Linked DNA regions of Homo sapiens: all the other regions are linked to region 1. The links are contacts of gene promoters, found by promoter capture Hi-C in blood cells and fetal thymus (Javierre and others, 2016). All regions are on one chromosome and are shown on one strand. The core of a region is centred on a gene start or on the middle of the fragment in contact, and the rest is flanking DNA. Distances in the headings are between cores, read along the strand shown.

The links. Contacts are between HindIII fragments. The CHiCAGO score rates a contact against its expected background, and 5 or more counts as called.
Region 2: a contact is called between a fragment that was not itself captured here and the fragment with the promoter of CCL28 in region 1, in 1 of 17 cell types (erythroblasts). The highest score is 5.2, in erythroblasts.
Region 3: a contact is called between a fragment that was not itself captured here and the fragment with the promoter of CCL28 in region 1, in 3 of 17 cell types (erythroblasts, M1 macrophages and M2 macrophages). The highest score is 6.9, in erythroblasts.
Region 4: a contact is called between a fragment that was not itself captured here and the fragment with the promoter of CCL28 in region 1, in 3 of 17 cell types (erythroblasts, M1 macrophages and M2 macrophages). The highest score is 6.3, in erythroblasts.
Region 5: a contact is called between a fragment that was not itself captured here and the fragment with the promoter of CCL28 in region 1, in 3 of 17 cell types (erythroblasts, M1 macrophages and megakaryocytes). The highest score is 9.3, in erythroblasts.

Annotation. Positions count from the first base shown.
Region 1 is chr5:43,411,070-43,413,738 of GRCh38, reverse strand. It overlaps CCL28 (C-C motif chemokine ligand 28), which reads left to right and starts at 1,348. Exons shown (of 3, transcript NM_148672.3): 1 at 1,348-1,486. The coding sequence starts at 1,423. The HindIII fragment of the contact is 1,630 bases long and covers 839-2,468 here.
Region 2 is chr5:43,076,256-43,078,924 of GRCh38, reverse strand. The region is part of intron 2 of LOC100506639 (a long non-coding RNA gene); the gene reads right to left. Among named protein-coding and RNA genes, the nearest start is that of ANXA2R-OT1, 10 kb to the right of the region's middle. RefSeq lists an enhancer at 264-817. The HindIII fragment of the contact is 1,166 bases long and covers 792-1,957 here.
Region 3 is chr5:43,099,400-43,102,068 of GRCh38, reverse strand. No RefSeq gene overlaps it. Among named protein-coding and RNA genes, the nearest start is that of ZNF131, 20 kb to the left of the region's middle. The HindIII fragment of the contact is 1,560 bases long and covers 553-2,112 here.
Region 4 is chr5:43,117,762-43,120,430 of GRCh38, reverse strand. No RefSeq gene overlaps it. Among named protein-coding and RNA genes, the nearest start is that of ZNF131, 1.8 kb to the left of the region's middle. The HindIII fragment of the contact is 6,749 bases long and covers 1-2,669 here.
Region 5 is chr5:43,135,380-43,138,048 of GRCh38, reverse strand. All of the region lies in intron 3 of ZNF131 (zinc finger protein 131), which reads right to left. Among named protein-coding and RNA genes, the nearest start is that of ZNF131, 16 kb to the right of the region's middle. The HindIII fragment of the contact is 853 bases long and covers 919-1,771 here.

The DNA.
Region 1 (2,669 bases), core at 99-2,598:
TACAATTATGGAGGCTGGGAAGTCCAAGATCAAGGCTCCAGTGATTTCAGTTTCTATTTCCAAGATGATGCCACTTTGCTGCATCTTTTGGAGAGAAGGAGCATTGTGTACTCACCTGGCAGAAGAGCAGAAGGTACCAACCCATTCCCACAAGCCCTTTTTATAGTAGCATTCATCCATTCATGAGGGTGGAGCCATCATAACCTAAACATTGTCCATTAGGCCCTATCTCCCAGCACTATTAGGGATTAATTTTCAACATGAGCTTTGGAGAAGAAAAAAATATTCAAACCACAGCAGTAATTTGAAAACATAAAAAGAAATGGGTGAAATTAATTTTAATAATATATTTTATTTAACCCAAAAAGTCCAAAATACTATCATGTAATCAATAAACAGTATAAACATTATTAACAAGATATTTTATATTTTTTTCTGTACCCAGTCTTTGAAATCCAGTGTGAATTTTATACCCATAGTACATCTGAGTTTGGACTACTCATATTTCAAGTGCTCAAGAGCCACATGTGGGCTAGCGGCTACCACATAGGACAACACAGTTCTAGAGGAAGCATGGCATGACTTTGGAGGTCATCTAGTCTGACTTGTTATTTACAGCAAAGTTAAGTACGTTGCCTGAGGTTATACAACTTATTAGTAGATGAGGAACAATTAGAATCCAATTATCTTCATGCTACCCCATGCTTTTATTCACAAAGCTGATTGGCAGCAAAGCTGCACTAGCGCTCATGCCTCTTCACACCTGCTCTTGGGCTCTTTTCTACAAGGCATTGCCCCCCTTCCTGTCTTTCTCCTAAATAAGCTATTGTAAAAAGCTTCACTGGAAACAATTTGGCTGTGAACCAAGACTAAAGTGGGGTTTAATACTTCCATATCTTTCCACAAAGATACATTTTTTATGACTTGTCACCCTTGTCCCCAGAAACTCATGGTTTCCATAAGCTACTTAAAAACTGATTATGCAATGGGTCTCAACATAAGTGTCCATCAGAATCACCTATAGAGCTTTTACAAAATTCAAATGACTGGTCTCCTACCTGGGAGTTCTGGTTTACAAATCAGGGAAAGGGGAGAGTCATTTAGATTGATTTTTTTTAATGTTCCCCAAATGATTCTGATGCACACCCCACCTCACAGTGACCCTGCCAGCTGCCAGATCTCCATTGACATCCCCTGACCCCCAGGCAGGATGAACACAAGTTAGGAGCTTAATAAGTCGAGGAGGAGCCTGGTCTTAAGGAAAGAAACATGAGAAATAGATACCCTGAACACCTCCCAGGGCGGGGCCACCTGGCTTACTTTTCCTCTGCACTTTCTCTGTGCCCAAGGACACCTTTAGCCTCATTTCCTGATCGAACAGCCTCACTTGTGTTGCTGTCAGTGCCAGTAGGGCAGGCAGGAATGCAGCAGAGAGGACTCGCCATCGTGGCCTTGGCTGTCTGTGCGGCCCTACATGCCTCAGAAGGTGAGTGGGGGCACTGGACACTTAGGCCTTCACTGGAAAGGGGGGTATCTCCCAAATCTGTGCTGGAAGGATTGAGGTGGGGCAAGAATATCTATCTCTTCAAGCAGGAATTTCCAATTGATTTCTGATTACCTACAAGAGAATGACATAGCTTTAAATTCTAGATCTCCCAGAAGTTTCAGGAAGGAACCTCATTCTAACAGGCATACTACAAATTTTTGCCACCTGGAGGATGAGGTCCTTCCATGTAGGTACAACTTCGAGCTATGTTTCCTTTTCTGAAGACAGTATCTTAGAAAATCCCCAGCTAGAGGCTGGAGTAAAGCCCCTACTATTCATCTGTCTTCCTCCACACCCCAACCTGCTAAACGGTCTGAACACAACTGTGCACATTCCTGGAGGGAAATACAGACTTGGCCAGCTGCGTTCAAATTAGGTAAGTTGTAAATTTCCTGAGCAAAGTCAGCTCTATGGATACAGAAAACTGAAACTTCAGTCTGACCTTTAAAAAGGGAGGGCAGAGCTGAGCACAGTGGTGCATGCCTGTATTCCCACCTACTTGGGAGGCTACGGCTGGAGGATAGCTTCAGGCCAGGAATTCAAGATTGCAGTGAGCTATGATCACACTGTGAATTGCCACTGCACTCTGAATTGCCACTGCACTCCAGCTTGGGCAACATAGTAAAACCCCATCTGTTAAAAACAAAAAGAGGGGAGGGGAGGGGAAAGAGAAGGAAAGGAAGAAAGGAAAGGAAAGAAAGAAAAAGAAGAAAAGCAGGATGAGGGAGATTGAACCATACAAATTATGTCAAAGAGAATTTAAATCGTGAGTTGCTAGCATGTATTTGGAGATTGTAACTGCATTTGAACTAGAGGGAATCTCTTCTAAAGTAGCACTCACTACTATATTCAGGAAACCCTAAGTGTCAGTACTTAATACTTGACCAATGACTCTTTTCCATTGTCATCTTTTCTTTAAGCTTTATCCTGAACAGATTCTCTAAGTCTAGAGCAGAGGTGGAATATAAGTCTTTGGTCTGCTTTTTAAAAATCTGAGCCAACATTTTAAAACTGAAAGCTTTCTCATGTACATACTCATACATACACACATACAAATTGGATTTTAAAGCTTCTCTTGAGAAATCAGATGTGGCAACAATGATTCCACCATACCATGGCAAGA
Region 2 (2,669 bases), core at 125-2,624, 330 kb after region 1:
TTTTTTTGAGACAGAGCCTTGCTCTGTCGCCCAGGCTGGAGTGCAGTGGCACAATCTTGGCTCACTGCAAGCTCTGCCTCCGGGGTTCACGCCATTCTCCTGCCTCAGCCTGCCGAGTAGCTGAGACTACAGGCGCCCGCCACCACACCCGGCTAATTTTTTTTTTTTTTTTTTTTGAGACGTAGTCTCGCTGTTGCCCAGGCTGGAGTGCAGTGGGGCGCAATCTCGGCTCACTGCAGGCTCCGCCCCCTGGGGTTCACGCCATTCTCTTGCCTCAGCCTCCCGAGTAGCTGGGACTACAGGGCCCGCCACCTCGTCCGGCTAATTTTCTGTATTTTTAGTAGAGACGGGGTTTCACCGTGTTAGCCAGGATGGTCTCCATCTCCTGACCTCGTGATCCGCCCGCCTCGGCCTCCCAAAGTGCTAGGATTACAGCCGGGAGCCACCGCGACCGGCCCACGCCCGTCTAATTTTTTGTATTTTTTAGTAGAGACGGGGTTTCACTGTGTTAGCCAGGATGGTCTCGATCTCCTGACCTCGTGATCCGGCCACCTCGGCCTCCCGAAAGTGCTGGGATTACAGGCGTGAGCCACGGCGCCCAGCCCCAGCCTGTCACTTAAACTGATAAACGACAGATTAACAGTAGAAAAATTTTATTTTGCATACATAATGAGGCTTCACAAAAGAGAAGTGAAAACCCAAGTAGGAGTTTAGGGCTGGGGGCTTATATACCATTTAACAAGGGGTGATAAATTGTGAAGAGAATAGAATAGTCAAAGGGAAAGGAAGCTTTGCGATTATCGATTATAGGGGGAGGGAGTAAACAGTGAGAAGGTGATTAGGAAATGTCTGGCAAGTACGGTTTGTTATGCAGTTTCAAGTCCTCTCTGGTGATAATACATGTCCTCAAACAAGCATTGTGGGGGAAAGAAAGAGAGATCAGACTGTTACTGTGTCTATGTAGAAAAAGGAAGACATAAGAAACTCCATTTTGATCTGTACTAAGAAAAATTCTTCTGCCTTGAGATGCTGTTAATCTGTAACCCTAGCCCCAACCCTGTGCTCGCAGAAACATGTGCTATATTGACTCAAGATTTAATGGATTTAGGGCTGTGCAGGATGTGCCTTGGTAAAAATGTTTGCAGGCAGTATGCTTGGTAAAAGTCATCACCATTCTCCAATCTCAAGTACCCAGGGACACAATGCACTGTGGAAGGCCACAGGGACCTCTGCCCAAGAAAGCCTGGGTATTGTCTAAGGTTTCCCGCCACTGAGATAGCCTGAGATATGGCCTTGTAGGAAAGGAAAGACCTCCATCCCCCAGCCCGACACCCATAAAGGGTCCGTGCTGAGGAGGATTAGTGAAAGAGGAAGGCCTCTTTGCAGCTGAGACAAGAGGAAGGCATCTGTCTCCTGCTTGTCCCTGGGAATGGAATGTCTCAGTGTAAAACCTGATCATATATTCTATTTACTGAGATAGGAGAAAACTGCCTTATGGCTGGAAGTGAGACCTGCTGGCGGCAATACTGCTCTTTACTGCACTGAGATGTCTGTGTAAAGTCAAACATAAATCTGGCCTATGTGCACATCCAGGCACAGCACCTTTCCTTAAACTTATTTATGACACAGAGTCCTTTGCTCACATGTTTTCCTGCTGACCCTCTGGCCACCATTACCCTATAGTCCTGCCACATCCCCCTCGCCAAGATAGTAGAGATAGTGATCAATAAATACTGAGGGAACTCAGAGACCAATGCTGGTGCAGGTCCTCACTTGCTGAGCACCAGTCCCCTTGGCCCACTTTTCTTCCTCTATACTGTCTCTGTGTCTTATTTCTTTTCTCAGTGTCTCGTCTCCACCTTGCAAGAAATACCCACAGGTGTGGAGAGGCAGGCCCCCTTCAAGTATTAGAGTAGAAGAGTTTCCTTCTCTTCCAGGTAGGGGAGAGGTGGAAGCTTTTATAAATGCAAATTTTTTTACAAAAGCAAAATGTATGCCCTGCTTTTCAGCAGGAAAGGGAGGTCAGAGATCCTCATATGTCTGCTATTTCTAATTTCTTTTTTTCTCTTTTTTTTTTGAGATGGAGTCTCGCTCCCATCACGCAGGCTGGAGTGCAGTGGTACGATCTTGGCTCATTGCAACCTCTACCTCCTGGCTTCAAGCAATTCTCCTTCCTCAGCCTCCTGAGTAGCTGGTATTACAGGCGTGCCACACCACGCCTGGCTAATTTTTGTATTTTTTTTTTTTTTTTTTTTTTAGTAGAGATGGGGTTTCACCATGTTGGCCAGGCTGGTCTCGAACTCTTGACTTCAGGTGATCCACCTGCCTCGGTCTCCCAAAGTGCTAAGATTACAGGCATGAGCCACTGCACCAGGCCTGCTATTTCTAATTTTTTAACTGCTCAAAATAATCCATAGGCTAAAGTGGCATATATTGGGGTGGCACATCCTGATCCCCTTTACATCCCAGACTAACTCTGATAGAGATTCTAGCCCTCCCTGGGCTCATTAGAAAAGAAGCTCTAGGCACATTAGAAACATCTCAGTCATTTAAAATTCTCTAGCCTAGGAAGGTTCAAGTTAAGCCTTCCAAACAATTGGAGTTCACTGCGGCCTACCATCTGCAACTTTTTCATGCCATACACTCATTTCTGATGGGCACATCTAATT
Region 3 (2,669 bases), core at 83-2,582, 310 kb after region 1:
ATTCCAAAATGATTAAGCCCTTGGAAATAAAATGGGATACATGATTTGAAAGATATCCAAGAGGTGGCATGTGCAGTAAGAAGAACTCAGCATTGGGCAGGCTGGTGGCTATAGCACCAGTGCTGAGAGGGCAGGATGTTAAGTAGGAAAGAAAAGCCTTTAGAGAAGGGCAGAGTTCCAGGATCCCTGTCCATATGGACAACATGACCCTAGTCTCTCATGTCTGTCAGCTCTTGTGTCTTCTGGCTTTTCTTAGTCTCACTCAGCCACATTGTTTGTAGCACTCACTTCCCTTGAAGGCACTTGAAACTGGGACATCTGTCCACAGACAGGCCTGTCTGGACAGCCTTCCAAAATGCTCATGGCAATGAGAAAGTCTCTGAGTCCCAGTCATTTCCCTGCACACAGAGTAGTTCCCATCTTAGCAAAACTGGGTGTTCTCTGAGTATCACTCAGCACATGGAAGCTGTCCAGACTTCTGTCCTGTGCAGGCAGGCAGTAACCTGGGATCTCTGCTCTTGCATGCAGATAAACTTACAGTCCTTCAAAGCTTCAAGCTCCTAGATGGTGAAACAATACATCTGTGCTGAGAGTGAGGAGAAGGATGCAATAGTCTTCCAGTTTTGTACTTTTACACTTCTGGGTCATCAGAAACCAAAGATTTGCCTTGGTTTCCCAAAGTGTTGGGATTACAGGCATGATCCACCACGTCCAGCTTCAATAATTATTATTTTTTATTTATTTATTTTGAGACAGAGTCTTGCTCTGTCACCCAGGCTAGACTGCAGTGGCGCCATCTCGGCTCACTGCAAGCTCCACCTCCAAGGTTCACACCATTCTCCTGCCTCAGCCTCCTGAGTAGCTGGGACTACAGGTGCCTGCCACCACACCCAGCTAATTTTTTGTATTTTTAGTAGAGACGGGGTTTCACCGTGTTAGCCAGGATGGTCTCAATCTGCTGACCTTGTGATCCACCTGCCTCGGCCTCCTAAAGTACTGGGATTACAGGCATGAGCCTCCACACCCGGCCCTCAATTATTTTTGATAGTTTTGTGTCAATATTTCCATGATATATAACAATTCCTTATTATTCTAGCAATCTTTTCCTCATCATTTTGTCTTAGTTCTACATAATTCTTATACTGAGGATTAAACTGAAGCATGGCTCTAACCCTGAAACTTCTCTAATAATTTTTAATCTCAATGATATTGTTTGAATATTTGTCCCCCTCCAAATCTCATGTTGAAATTTGGTTCGGGACAGAGCAGTGGCTTACACCTGTAATCCCAGCACTTTGGGAAGCCAAGGTGGGAGGATAGCTTGTGGCCAGGAGTTCAAGACCAGCCTGGGCAACACAGAGAGACCCCTGTCTTGATAAAAATAAAAAAGGCCAGGCGCGGTGGCTCACACCTGTAATCCCAGCACTTTGGGAGGCTGAGGCGGGCGGATCACAAGGTCAGGAGATCAAGACCATCTTGGCTAACACAGTGAAACCTCGTCCCTACTAAAAATACACACACACACACACACACACACACAAAATTACCCAGGCGTGGTGGCGGGCACCTGTAGTCCCAGCTACTTGGGAGGCTGAGGCGGGAGAATGGCATGAACCCAGGAGGTGGAGCTTGCAGTGAGCCAAGATCGCGCCACTGCACTCCAGCCTGGGCAACAGAGTAAGACTCCATCTCAAAAAATAAATAAATAAATAAATAAATAAATAAAATAAAAAAGATTTTGATAATATTGGAAGTGGGACCTAAAGGGAGGTGTTTGGGTCATGGGGGTCGAGCTATCATGAATGGCTTGGTGCAGCCCCCAAGTAATAAGTAGGTTCTCACTCTATTAGTACATACAATAAAAAGAGAACCATGTCAAAAGGTACCTGAGATACACCAAGAAAGCTCAAACTTGAAGACATGTTTTTAATATGTAAATGTGTATGAATGGATACATACAAGATGTGTTTAAAATCTGTTTGAGCTGCCACTGTCAGATTCAATGTATAGCTAGCATCAATTTGCTGGGGTTAGAGGGCATCAAGATCTTCCCAGAAATTCAGAGCCTTAGGTAATCCAAAGGAAGATTCTGTCAACATTTATACCTAAGCTTGACAGCCCTGATGCCTCTTTGGACCTGGCTTGGAAATATGATCCTCTATTGTAGCAATTGTACCTTGTTGCTGAATGATGTCATCATCCACAAGATGGATCCATTCTTGATTCTCACCCTATTGACTTTTTTCCATTGCAACCATAACATGGGCTAGCTGCTCTACACCTCTCCAGTGGACTTCAAGTGCTGCTGAGCTCAAATAAATCTTGTCTGTCCCACCATTTTAACCAGACAGGCAGAGCTCTTCTGTCTTAAGTGTCTCATAAATCTTTCAAATAGGTAAACTTCTAGTGCTATGCTTCCTCTGACCGTTCTGCTATTCTGTTTTCCTGTGCCATGGTTTCTCATTAGGTTTTCTACTGTTTTTTTGTTTGTTTGTTTGTTTGTTTTTCTTTTTGTTTTTGTTTTTGAGATGGAGTTTCACTCTTGTCGCCCGGGCTAGAGTGCAATGGCGCGTTCTCGGCTCACTGCCGCCTCTGCCTCTCGGGTTCAAGCAATTCTCCTGTCTCAGCCTCCTGAGTACCTGGGATTACAGGCACCCCCCACCAAGCCC
Region 4 (2,669 bases), core at 53-2,552, 290 kb after region 1:
CCCACAGTCAGCTGCATGTGACTGCTTCCTTAATTCCTCCAAAGAAATATTATATATAAATACATTTTGAGGATAATTCTATAATTGAGATTTACTTATTTTTTTCTCTCAAAGAACTTGAGAATTGGGATTACGGAGGAACTCAAATAGCTATATGGTAATAATGTCATCATAACTTCAACAGATATGTATTGAGAATCCTAGTACTAGACACTGAGAAGTCCAGCTGTGAACAAGGTATATGTGGTTTCTGCCTTTCTGAATCTTAAGTCTAGTAGACTGCATAGATATTTTGAACAGTAATTGCCTAGGTGCTTGCTGATGAGTTTTGCAACACCTGAAGAACGAAGTAACTGGGTGTCAAGGAAAGCCAGTTGACCTGTAAGAAGAGATGTGGGCGGGCGCGGTGGCTCACGCTTGTAATCCCAGCACTTTGGGAGGCCGAGTTGGGGAGGAGGAGTTCAGCCCAGGAGTTTGAGGCCAGCCTGGGCACATAGCGAGACCCCATCTGTATTAAAACAAAAAATGTTTTTAAGTGATGTGAAGTCTAAGTGTTCTTAGCCAAAAGTATAGCACATGCAAAGGCACCAAGATTATAGCATTCAGGAAACTGAAACAATGTTGCTGGATAGACGCACAAGGGTGCCTTATAAAAAGTGTTGAAGATGTCAGATTTTCTTTTTGCAAGGGGAAGCCTTGCCGCATGGTGACATCCTAAGATGTACTTTTTAAAGAGATAATTCTAGCCCCAATATGGAGAACAGATTAAATGGGACAAGCTGCTAGGAATAGAGATCAACTGGGAGACTGTTAGTAATGTAGATGAAACCATGGGGGAAAATGGAATTAGAGAGCTGGTCAGAATCTAGAGATAGGCTGGGCGCAGTGGTTCAGGCCTGTAATCCCATCACTTTGGGAGGCCCAGTCGGGGAGGATCGCTGGAACCCAGGTGTTCAAGACCAGCCTGGGTGACATGGTGAAACATCGTCTCTACAAAATACAAAAAAATTAGTGATGGTGTGCACCTATTGTTTCAGCTACTTGGAAGACTGGGGTGGGAGGATCACTTGAGCTCAGGGAGGTTGAGGCTGCAGTGAGCTAAGATGGTGCCACTTCACTCCAGCCTGGGCAACAGAGTGAGACCCTGTCTCAAAAAAAAAAAAAAAAATCTAGAGATAGAACCAACATTGGCTGTAAAGCATGCCATAGATACTAAATAAATATTGCTGGATATATTGGTGACAAGGGAGAAAGAATAGTCAAAGATGGCTCCTGGATTTCTGGCTTGAGCCAGTAGATTGTTGGCACCATCTACCAAAATAGGAAATACAACTGGCGGAGCTGGATGGGGAGAGAGGATGGAACCAGAGGTGTTATTATAAGGAGATAATGTTAGAGGCCCTTGGATATATGGGCCTACATATAGTTTAGGGAAGAAGACTAACCGTAGAGATAGAGATTTGCAAGTTTACAGCATAAAAGGAATATTGAAGTGTTAAGAATAGATGGGATTGTTTAAAGAGAGTCTGCAGGAGTGATAGGCTAGCTGCTTGTAGATTGAATTGGTGTTTTAAAATATTATCATCAGCTGGTGGCTCATGCCTGTAATCCCAGCACTTTGGGAGGCCGAGGTGGGTGGATCATGAGGTCAGGAGTTTGAGACCAGCCTGACCAACACGGTGAAACCCTGTCTTTACTAAAAATACAAAAATTAGCCGGGCATGGTGGCATGCGCCTGTAATCCCAGCTACTCGGGAGGCTGAGGCAAGAGAATCGCTTGAACTCGGGAGGCGGAGGTTGCAGTGAGCTGGGACCGTGCCACTGCACTCCAGCCTGAGCAACAGAGCGAGAGTCTGTCTCAAAAAAAAAAAAAAAAAAAAATACGCTGGGCGCAGTGGCTCACGCCTGTAATCCCAGCACTTTGGGTGGCTGAGGCGGACAGATCACGAGGTCAGGAGATCGAGACCATCCTTGCTAACACGGTGAAACCCCGTCTCCACTAAAAATACAAAAAAATTAGCCGGGCATGGTGGCGGGCACCTGTGGTTCCAGCTACTGGGAAGGCTGAGGCAGAAGAATGGCGTGAGCCGAGATCGTGCCACTGCACTCCAGCCTGGGTGACAGAGCAAGACTCTGCCTCAAAAAAAAAATAAATATAAAATAACACATAAATTAAATTAAATATTATCATAATTGTTATTATTCACACAGCCTGCCACCATGCCTGGCTAATTTTTTGTATTTGTAGTAGAGATAGAGTTTTGCCATGTTGGCCAGCCTGGTCTCGAACTTCTGACCTCAGGTGATCGCCTGCCTCCGCCTCTCAAAGGGCTGGGATTACAGGCATGAGCCACCGTGCCTGGCCACGGTATTTCTTAAGATGAAGAAATTGGACACAAAAATAGGCTTTTTGGAAATTCCAGTATATAGGACCGCTCTTCTTTTACAGCAATTGAATTTAACCAAATGGAGAACCCTTTTCTACATAGGATTTGAGCTGTCCAGTTCCCTATAATCCCCACCAATTTCTAATGTTTTAGACTCAGCTATCATTCATTTTCCTTATTTGCTTAGTCCCTGAAAGCATTTGAGTTTGGGACTCCTAGTCCCAAATGGGAGAATGGAAGAGAGTGTAGGACTTTTTATCTAAAAAGTATCAATGTTTATGG
Region 5 (2,669 bases), core at 96-2,595, 280 kb after region 1:
CTATTTGAGATAGCTCATATGAGTGGAAGTGACTATTTTAGATTCCTCATATAAATAGAAATATGCAGTTTATGTCTGTGACTGGCTTACTTCACTTAGCATAATGTCCTCAAGGTTCATCCATGTGGTTGCATATGCAGAATATCCTTGTTCTTAAGAGCTGAATAGTATTCCATTGGATACATATACTACATTTTCTTTATCCATTAATCTGTTGACGAATATTTATTTCCTCTCGTGGCTACTGTAAATAGTGCTGCAATGAACATAGGAGTGCTAAAACTTCAAGATCCTGATTTCAGTTCTTTTGGATAAATGTTCAGCAAGTGGGATTGCTGAATTGTATGGTATTTTAATTTTTTAAGGAACATTCATACTGTTTTCCATAATGGCTGCACCTATTCCTGCCAACATTGTGCAAGGATTCCAATTTATTTATATCCTCACCAATACTAGTTGTCTTTTTTTTTTTGATAGCCATCCTGAAAGGTGTGAAGTGACTGATACCTCATAGTGGTTTTGATTTGCATTTCCTTGATGCCTAGTGACACTGAACTTTTTTTTCATGTATCTGTTGGCCATCTGTTTGGAGAAATGTCTATTCAAGTTCTTAGCACATTTAAAAAAACATTTTTAATTTAATTTTTTTCTGCATCATTTAGACTGTTTTTAATTGGGCAGATATTTTTTACTATCAGTTGTGGGAGTTTCTCATATATTTTTGGGATTCATTCCTTATCATTTATTTGGTTCTGCAAATACTTTCTCCCATTCCTTAGATTTCCTTTTCACTCAGTTGTTTCCTTTGCTGTACAGAAGCTTTTTAGTTTGATGTAGTCCCACCTGTCTTATTTTCTGTTGTTGGCTGTGCTTTTGACGTCACATCCACGAAATTACTAAGAATGATGTGGTGAAGCTTCCCCTCATGTTTTCTTCCAGGAGATTTACATTTTTTGGTCTTATGTCTAAGTCTCCAATTCATTTTGAGTTTTTTTCTTTTTTATGGTAGAAGATAGGGGTCCAATTTCATCTTTTTTCATGTGAATACCTAGTTCTTCCAACATCATTTGTTGCAGAAAACATTCCTTCCTTATTGTGCATTCTTGGCATCCCTGAAGATCAGTTGACCATATTATTTGCATGTTTTTATTTGTGGGCTCTCTATTCTGCTCCTTTGGTCTGTATGTCTCTTTAAGCTAGTCCCATACTGTTTTGGTTATTGTAGCTCTGTAAAATATTTTGATATCAAGAAGTATCATGTCAGCTGGGTGCAGTGGCTCATGCCTGTAATCCCAGCACCTTGGGAGGCCAAGGCTGGTGGATCACCTGAGGTCAGGAGTTCGAGATCAGCCTGGTCGATATGGTGAAACTCCGTCTCTACTAAAAAAAAAAAAAAAAGAAAAAGAAAAAAGAAAAAAAGAAAAAAATTAGATGGGGGTGGTGGCACGCACCTGTAATCCCAGCTACTTGGGAGGCTAAGGCTGCAGTGGGCCAAGATTACACCACTGCACTTCAGCCTGGGCAACACAGTAAGACTACCTCAAAAAAAAAAAAAAAAAAAAAAAAAAAAAAGTATGATGCCTCTAGCTTTGTTCTTTTTCAAGATTGATTTGGCTAGTCCATGATTTTCTGTGGTTCCATATGAATTTTAGAACTGCTTTTCCTGTTTCCATAAAACAAAAAAAATTCCATCAGGATTTTGAGAGGGACTGTATTGAATCTGTAGCCCACTTTCTGTAATACAGGCTGAATATCCCTCATATGAAAAGCTTGGGATCACAACTGTTTTGGATTTTGAAATATTTGCATTATACTTGACACAGGTTGAGCATCCCAAATCTGAAAATCCGAAATCCAAAATGCTCCAACAAGCATTTCCGTTGAGTCATGTTGATGCTCAGAAAGTTTCAAATTTTATAGCAGTTCATTTTTTCTTCTTCGAGACCAAGTCTCACTCTGTTGCCCGAGCTGGAGTACAGAGGCTCGGCTCACCGCAACCACCACCTCCCGGGTTCAAGCGATTCTCCTTCCTCAGCCTCCCAAGTAGCTGGGACTACAGGCACGCACCACCATACCCACCTAATTTTTATATTTTTAGTAGAGACAGGGTTTCACTACGTTGGCCAGCTGGTCTTGAACTCCTGAAATTGTGATATGCCCGCCTCGGCCTCCCAAAGTGCTGGGACTATAGGCGTGAGCCACTGCACCTGGCAAGCAGTTCAGATTTTCAAATTTGAGATGCTCAATCTGTATGGACAATTTAACAATACTGAGTGTTCCAAATCCATGAAGATCTATTGAGTGTCTTTAGTTTCTTTTTTCTTTTTTGAGACGGAGTCTCGCTCTGTCGCCCAGGCTCGAGTGCAGTGGTGCAATCCATGCTCACTGCAACCTCAGCCTCCCGAATAGCTGGGACTACAGGAATGGGCCACCATAACCAGCTAATTTTTGTATTTTTTTCCGGAAGAGACAGGGTTTCACCATGTTGTTCAGGCTGGTCTTGAACTCCTGACCTCAAGCAATCCACCCGCCTCCGCCTCCCAAAGTGCTGGGATTACAGGCGTGAGCCACTGTGCCCAGCCCAATTTCTTTAATGTTTTATGGTTCTCAGTATTGCATGTCTCTCACCTAAGGAGGTGAAAGGTTAAGCCTATTCCCAGTTACTTTAT